Regions from separate parts of the Homo sapiens genome. Here region 1 is linked to region 2. The links are contacts of gene promoters, found by promoter capture Hi-C in blood cells and fetal thymus (Javierre and others, 2016). All regions are on one chromosome and are shown on one strand. The core of a region is centred on a gene start or on the middle of the fragment in contact, and the rest is flanking DNA. Distances in the headings are between cores, read along the strand shown.

What was found. The method cuts DNA at HindIII sites, captures the fragments that hold promoters and counts their contacts. A CHiCAGO score of 5 or more calls a contact.
Region 1: a contact is called between the fragment with the promoter of OXCT1-AS1 here and the fragment with the promoter of LMBRD2 in region 2, in 1 of 17 cell types (non-activated CD4 T cells). The highest score is 7.2, in non-activated CD4 T cells.

The regions. Positions count from the first base shown.
Region 1 is chr5:41,867,769-41,871,980 of GRCh38, reverse strand. It overlaps OXCT1-AS1 (OXCT1 antisense RNA 1), which reads right to left and starts at 1,951. Exons shown (of 3, transcript NR_046635.1): 1 at 1,789-1,951; 2 at 1,599-1,690; 3 at 1-1,215. OXCT1 (3-oxoacid CoA-transferase 1) reads left to right here and starts at 1,556. Exons shown (of 17, transcript NM_000436.4): 1 at 1,556-1,700. The coding sequence starts at 1,623. LOC102723752 (a long non-coding RNA gene) reads right to left here. Exons shown (of 3, transcript XR_925956.4): 1 at 2,379-4,212. RefSeq lists enhancers at 960-1,009, 1,840-1,919. The HindIII fragment of the contact is 3,584 bases long and covers 1,204-4,212 here.
Region 2 is chr5:36,150,288-36,154,262 of GRCh38, reverse strand. It overlaps LMBRD2 (LMBR1 domain containing 2), which reads left to right and starts at 2,376. Exons shown (of 18, transcript NM_001007527.2): 1 at 2,376-2,707. SKP2 (S-phase kinase associated protein 2) reads right to left here and starts at 2,152. Exons shown (of 10, transcript NM_005983.4): 1 at 1,993-2,152; 2 at 1,221-1,492. The coding sequence starts at 2,000. RefSeq lists enhancers at 1,846-2,035, 2,109-3,092 and silencers at 2,306-2,445, 3,046-3,105. The HindIII fragment of the contact is 3,342 bases long and covers 1-2,762 here.

The DNA of each region.
Region 1 (4,212 bases), core at 702-3,201, 5.7 Mb before region 2:
TTTCATGTGCCCTGTGGAAGGGCAAAAGTGGAAAAGCAGACCCAATCGCAATGGGCAAAAGTGGAAAAGCAGACTCAATTGGAATGCTAGTTTTTTTCACATTGTGTAAGTTAAAGGTACAACAGCTGCTATATGCTAAATTATCACTAGTTATGGGACTTTAGTTACAGTACTTGAATTTCCCCCCAATCCAACTTCTTAAAATGTGTTGAAATACCAACTAGCAATAAGTTAATTTCTCCAGTGTAATTGAATAGTCTAACTTGGTATCTTACTCCTTAACTGATTTTGACTAAAATTATAATATTTACAGGAAAAAAAAAAGTTCAGAGTTAAAAGAATACCATGAAAGGGCAAATGATTTTATGGACAAACTTTGAACTGCATCTTCACTGTTCATTACCTTACTGTATTTGCTAAGGAAGCTAAGATCTCATTTAATTTTTGTGTGCTTTGCTTTGGTTCAAAACTAACATCACATTCTCAGAACTTGGTCAGGCCTTAATCAAATAAAATGCTATTGAGCTTCCACTTGGTCTTTCCACTCTGCTAAGTGCAAAGACAGTTCTGGAGAAATCAGTCGTGGCTCATGTCCTCAAGGAGTTGGTCAAAAGACAAGGCTTGGCGAATATGTACGTGCCATGTCAATGAACTGCTACAATGGAATAAACTTATAATAATGCCTAACATTTATTGACTCCTCATAATAAGGCCATAAACTTTGCATGAATTAACTCATAGAAACGTTATGACGTTGTATCACAAGCAATCCTAATTTGCAGATGAGGACACTGAGGCTTAGGGAAGTTATCTAACTTGCCTAAGGTTAAAGCAATATACTGCTTTTATGGTTGCATCTTTAGTAATCTCTGGGGTTGCTGGGACTCCAGTGCGAGAAAGAGCCCGAAATTCGCAAACTTGGATGATGGGGAAGAAAAGGTGTGCTAAACTCAGGTCACAGAGGTCCAGTCTTAATCTTGTTCCTCTGCAAGCCTTGTTGCTCACACCTCTTGACCGACAGTTCGAGGCAAGTGCTCACAGCAAACTTACTCTATGTAAGCCAAGGCCAGATGTGGGGAGAAGGGGCTGAGAAATGTTAGAAACGTGAACGCAGTCCAGGCGGGAGAAGAGAAGGGGGCCTCGAGGGGTGCCCCTATGCAGCCCACACACACGCCAGGCACTAACTTGGAAAAGCAACAAGCTTGGCGGGAGATCCTCCCGCGGCCGGAGGGCCCTGAACCCTAGGCCAAGACTCATCCACAACCTAGGGGGAGGCGGCCACCAGCGCCCCATCGAAGCTAAAGGGCTGACAGAAGGGCTGTAGCGGCAAGTGTGCGCCAACACAGCTGCACACGCCCAGACACCTGAGGCGCTGAGAGGAACTTCCCCGCGATCCGCCCCGGCTGCACAGAGCCTCTTCTCCCCGCCGGGGCCCCGCCCAGCCTCACTTCTTTTAAAAGCAGCAGCCAGCAGCGCGCCGGTGGCGTGCGGCTCGAAAGGCCGGGAGGACGTCATCGACGCGCTGTCGAGCCTCCAGCCCGCCCGGGTTTCCTTCGCAGTCGCGCACCGACGCTCAAACGCGCGCTCCAACCCGCAGCCTCCTCCTGCCTCACCGCCCGAAGATGGCGGCTCTCAAACTCCTCTCCTCCGGGCTTCGGCTCTGCGCCTCTGCCCGCGGATCTGGGGCAACCTGGTACAAGGTAAAGTGCGGGGGAAGAGGAAGGCCATGGGCAGGAAGAACGTGGACCAAACCCTGAGTGGTGCCCGCGTTTTCTTCTCTGCCCCTACCCGCTCTCTCCAGCCTGGGATCTGGCATCCGTGGCGCGGTGCCCTGGTCACGGACACGCGGCGACGCGTTCCTGGCCTCGCCGGCCCCTCGGATGACCGCCTTTGCTTGGTTCTGCAGTCGCTTCCCTGATGGAGCGAGACGCGATAAAGAAGCGCGCGGAGAGGCTGAGAAGGGGCGGGAGGACTCCTGGCAGCGCTCCCGAGCCCTTTGGCGCTCGTCGGCTTCCCTCCTGGCACCCGCCCTTGGATAGGGACTCTGAGGGTCTGAACGGGGGGAGGAGGGCGCCAGTATATGGAGGTTTAGGAGTGAGGCAACAGCGGGTAGGTTTGCGCCCCCGATGTTGGATCTCTGGGCAGAGGAACCTCTAGAGGCCCAGAACCTGAGGCTGGGTTAGCCATGGCTCTGCTCGAGTTCACCGGGGCTGGATGCCGGGTGCGGCGGGTGTGGAATGCCGCTCCCATCCTCTCCTCCCTATTTGGCTCTGCTGCCCCGTAGACTGGAGCGCTCGCCAGGGCGTCTTGCCGGCCAAGCTGGGAAACCATCCGAGGTGTGTCCCTGGCCCGCGCCTGGGCTGCAGGGGAGGACAAACCTTTCTCTCGAGGCCCCTCGTATCCGGGTTAGGGGCTTTCGGTTTTCAGAGCCCTTTGAAATCCTTTTTGTGCCCCACTGCCGACTCTCCACCGAGTGGTATCCGGAGGCATTCCCACCGTGGACTGACTTGTGGTTTTGCCTTATGCACTGTCCTCGCTTGTAAGCCCACCCCTGTCTGGAGCCCTAGGAGCGAATTACAGGACCAGAGCGCCAGGTCCAGGAGGGTGGCTTTATCCCCGCCGTCTCAATCGCGGGAGCCTCTTCCTTGGTATTCAGTAATAGGTCTGAGCTTGACAGCGTGCCATGCACACGGTGCTTACTCCTGAAGCGTGCCTGCCTGGCCCCATTGCTCTTTCCTGCATCCAATCCCTGACCGCTGAGAACACAGAGGAGCCACTGAGCTCCTTCGGTAGGTGCTAGGGAATGGTTCAGAACTGGACCATTTTACTCTTAAATGCCTCTTAGGAAGCATTTTTATAACTGCAGATAGACTTGGATATATAAAGCATTATTAAAAGGGAACTTGACCTTCAGTGAGATTGCAGCGGTGCTGAAGCTAATACAAACCAGAGCACAGCGATACCCTTGGGCCGAGGTCAGGAACGTTCCTTCTTTTGACAGTTACTGATTTGCCCAACTGTAATTTACTCACTTCAAGTCTTTTCCATCTTGAGTATATCATTAAACCATTTCCGAAGCTCAGCAAACCTCATCTTAGAGGGACGAGATGCAAATAAGGGGTTCTGCTATATCTCATTAAAAGTTCATACAGAGTTCAAACTTAGCCCTGTCAGGCTTGATTATCATAGGTCTAACTCCTGCCTTCCACTATTCCCCTAGCTTGTGGCTCTTAGTGCCCTTATTGTTTTTTTTTTTTTGAGACGGAGTCTCGCTCTGTCGCCCAGGCTGGAGTGCAGTGGCGGGATCTCGGCTCACTGCAAGCTCCGCCTCCCGGGTTCACGCCATTCTCCTGCCTCAGCCTCCCAAGTAGCTGGGACTACAGGCGCCCGCCACTACGCCCGGCTAATTTTTTGTATTTTTAGTAGAGACGGGGTTTCACCGTTTTAGCTGGGATGGTCTCGATCTCCTGACCTCGTGATCCGCCCGCCTCGGCCTCCCAAAGTGCTGGGATTACAGCCCTTATTGTTTAGCACTTTAAATCCTCACCTGCTGCTTCTGTTGAACTGTACCACTTATCTACTTGTTTAACTTTTCAGATGTGTATATTGTCTCCTCAACCAGATGACAGTTCCCCGATGGCAGAGACCATATTTATGCCTTACACTTAGTCTCCCTCAACAAACACACTACTCTGCATAGATCAGATATTCTACACATGTTTAAAGTACGGATGAGAGAACCCTCCAGGCAAACAGAAACCTTGAGTTTTTCCACTAAACATAACTAACAGCTAAAACGAGATAGTTATTTTCTTAAATGTTTAACATTTTTATAATGGGCAGGCCCAGTGTCTCGCAGACCTGAGAGTGCATCAGCATTACCTGGAGGTTTTCTAAAACAGATTGCTGTACCCACCCCCAGAATTTCTAATTTAATAGGTCCTGGGTGGGGCCCTAAACTTTGCATTGATAAGTTCCAGGTGATGTTGATGCTGCTGGTCTGGGGACTGACTGCCCCTTTCAGAGTTATCTGGCATGGACTTAGGTGAAAATAGACTATTGGGAGGTATCTTCTTTTCTTCATTATTACTGAGGGGCAGTGGGGAGCATTTAATACTATTTTCACTATAGAAAATTATTAGTGGGAAAAAGGTTATAAGAGTACCACTAACACTTTACCCACCATTCATCCTTGACCCTGTCTTTTCCCAA
Region 2 (3,975 bases), core at 1,127-3,626:
TCCTTGCCTCCTTTATGTCTTTGCTTAAAGGTCACTGTCCAATTGAGGCTTTCTCTCAATACCTGGTTTAAAAGTGCACTCTATCTTCCCACCCCAAGACCTGCATTCCCTCTTGGCTTGTTCTATTTTTGTTTTTAGCCATAGCTCTTATCACCTTCTAACATACTATATAAAAATAGTTATTGTGTTTATTGTATTCTCTCACTAGAATGGATGCTCCCTGAGAGCAGAAATGTTTGTTGTGCCCACTCCTCTATCTCCAGCACCTGGAACACGGCCTAGCACATGGTATGTGCTCAGCAAATATTTGCTGTATTACTGTTTTAAATAGCTTACTAGTAAGAAAAACTGATAACCCCAGGTCAATGCCCTGTTTATCCTATGGCTTTTGCATACTCCAGGGTTCTGGTTCACTCTGGGAGGCACTCGTTCGCCTGCTTGAGGAACTAGGGGATGGGGAGCTATTAAGGAGGGAAGATACAGTAAGTTCTACATTTCAGTCAATCCATTCTAGTTCGGGGGATAGATCTGGGGAGAAGAAGGTTGGAATTATGAATCCACTCCAATAGTTCAGGCAAGAGACGACGAGAACTTGAGAAATAGTTACCAGAGAAGAGGGAAAGATGCGATGAATGACTGGATGTTGGGGGGCGGTGGGAAGCTGACTGACTCTCAGGTTTTCGGGTTGGGTGATTAAACAGATAGTGTCAGCAGTAATGGAGACAGAACATACCAGGAGAAGCCAATATGGGGGTGGGAGTGGGCCTGGGGAGATGTCTCCCCCACTTAGGTGAACGTTCACTTCGCAGTCCACTGATAAATAACTAAAGTGATTAAGGCAAAAAGATCACTCAGGGGTACAAAGCAAAAGGAATCCTACAAGAAGACCACTGTTTATGTTTCTGTTAAACGGTGAAACTGAGCTGGCCTTGAGGCAGGCAGATTCCCTTCTAAGGAAAAAGGCAGGAATGTCTTCTCATGGGTTAAAATTTTCAAGGTGATTATGCACCAGAACATACATATATATATATATATATATATATATATATCTACCAAGATTCCTGCATACTTGACGACTTGCCCTATTTTGTTGAAAAATAGCTTCAGAATTAGGCAATCTTAAAAGGAACCCATGCTAAAGATCTCTGAACAAAGGTTTCCCAACAACATAGCTAAATCCACCCTTTGCATAACTGACATTTTTACCCTCATGTCCTTACCTGGAAAGTTCTCTCGATTTAGCTTAGGCCTGCGGACAATCACAAAGTCTTTGTCACTCCCTTTGCTCTTCAGCCGTTTCCGTGGGGGGCTCTCCGGGTGGCCCAGGTTTGAGAGCAGTTCCTGGGGGATGTTCTCACTGTCGGGCTCCTCTTTCTCCAGGGCGGAGACCCCCATGCCTGACAGCAGTTCAGAAGTCTTGCTGGAATCCCATCCCCACGTGAAGCTGGTGGCAACGTTGCTACTCAGGTCTGGAATCTCCTGGAGGTGCTTCCTGCAGAAGTGCACAATACCCCCGGTTCCTTTCGAAAACACACCCATAAATAATTTCAAGGCAATTAAAGAAGCTGCAGTTTATGCATTGTAGGAAACCTTCACAGCAGCTAACAGAATCGCATTTTTTATGTGCCTGCGGCGAGTTACCAAGAAAACGAAGAAATGAAAAGAACAAATCGAGAAGGCTTTTTGACTTACGATCCTGCAGAAGGCCTCAAGAATTTCTCCCAGTGGAGGGAACAGACAAGGAGAGAGACAGGGCAATCATACACTGATTGAAAACGGTGGCAGAAAAGCCCAATTAGGGAAGCCAAATAAAACCACACGCTGATCCCCGCACTAAGGCATCCATCCATTCACACTTTCCCCAAGAAGGGGCTAAGCAACCATTCACTTAACAGCATTACTAACAATATTAGCCAGTAGCGATATTCGCGGCCTAAAAGAATTATTAAGAGGGTCCATTTCATGCTCTTCCCCTTTTTGCAATCCGTTTACCTGTGCATAGCGTCCGCAGGCCCGGGAGTTTAAAATACGTGCATTAACTGCAGAGCTGCTCGCCTCCCAGATTCCCGCTTTGGCGCGCGGCGGCTCCGAGCGTGCTGCTCGGGCCCCCAGCAGCCAGACCCGCTAAGCCTAGCAACGTTCCATCCCCACTGCGCGCGCAAGGCTCTACAGCCCGCTCTGCTTCGCGGCCGCACTGAGGCCCAAGGCCTGCTGGGAATTGTAGTTTCCGTCCCGCTTCGTAGTCCGACGGGCTCGCCCTTACTTCCTTCCCTTGCAGCTTTACCCGCCTTCGAGATACCCACAACCCCCCGCGGGAGCGGGACTGGTCGGCCCACGGGGTAGGCGGGGAGGCGGAAGCGGGCGGCGCTACGGCTGACTGGGAAATGTCAGCCGCTGGACTGTAGACGGATTTTCCTTTCTCGGGAGCCCGCAGGCCTTCTGGTGATCGCCAGCGCTGTCGTCTCTGAGCGTGGATCCCAGAACCTGGACAGCTGTGGCGGCCGCCGTTTCCCGGTCCCGTCCAGACGCTGTCTGGCGAGATCGGACGGTGAGCCTAAGGCGGAACGCGTGAGGCGCTTTTGAGTCTGGGGTCCGGGGCCGAGAGCAGGCGGAAAGAGAGGGGACCCGGCAGACCCCGAGTGGCCGCCGCTGCGGGGCCCAAGTCCTTGGCTGCTGAGTGGTGACAGTAGCCCAGCCCGCCGGCCAGGTGAGAGGCTGCGAACTGCTGGCGTCGCACCTGTTCGTCCTTTTGCCAGGAAGCTTCTTCCTCCGTCGGGGAGAAGGCGGCCCTAAGAATTGGGTCTGTGGACGGGATCCTTCCTTTATCTGTAAAATAACGCACAACAGCTAAACACGCCGTTGGAACGAGAGACAATGGTTTAATTTTAGGGGAGCCGGAGACCCCAGCGGGTCCTGTGTGGTGGGAAGGCTGCGCATGCCCTTGCAGCCTTGACAGGTCTCATAAATAGCAACATGGGAATAAATGAAAGGACTGTATTTTGCAACGAGCTTTACCCGTGCACGCAGGGGGCCTCCAGCAAAGCCATTTGGTTGCTTGCTGTCGCTCAGCTGGCTACGTGTGTTTGCGTCGCCGCCTAAAAGCGAGCTGCTTTCAGCCTATCTCTGCTGAGAAGAGTTTGGGGGCAGTAAGAGTAGGGAGCGTGACATATTCCAGGTACAATGACCATGCGAAATCCATTGGGCAAACTATACTACAACTGTGACCCCGGGAAAACAGTGGAAGAGGGAAGGGGGATGAATTCTAAGCCTCATAAAAATGAAGATTTATAAAGTTCATAAGGAAGCATAACAGCTTCATCGCATATTAGAATATTCAGTGATGCTGTATGACACACCCTCTGGTTTCCTTGAAAAAATGATTCGCTCTGTAGTGAAATTAAACCTCCCTTGTGCAGGTATATGCTTGTTTCAAGCTTGGTCCTTAGCTTGAAAAGTAACTGCCTCTTGAGGAAGGAATTCATGAACCTTTAGCTCGTTCTTGAAAGATGAGATTGGTGTAAAGAAGGGATCTGTTCACAACTTGGTTTTGATTGGAACTAGGTGCAGAATCCTAGGCTAAGCCGTTCATCAAACTAATGTTATATGGAAAGCATTTTAAAATGCAATATCCTGATGTTTTACAGAAAGTGACCTTTATGTTACTTTGGCTAAGGAGAAAGCATTTGCCTTTGTTTGAAGCTACGTCCTTTCCCTGAAGATTGCAACTCATAGGAGAAAATATTTTTGACACAAAAAATTATAGTTTCCTTCAGGAAAGGGAACAAAACAGAGAGAGCCTGTAAGCTAATGGAGGAGAAAGAATAAACAAAAATATTTAAGATGCCATAATGAGAATAAACAGTTTTGAGATGTAAAATAATTGGGAGAGCCCACTTCAGATATAGATCTCATAGATAGGAAGGTTTAATCGATGAGATGATTCTAAATTTAAAGATGAGAAATATCTTTGTTCAG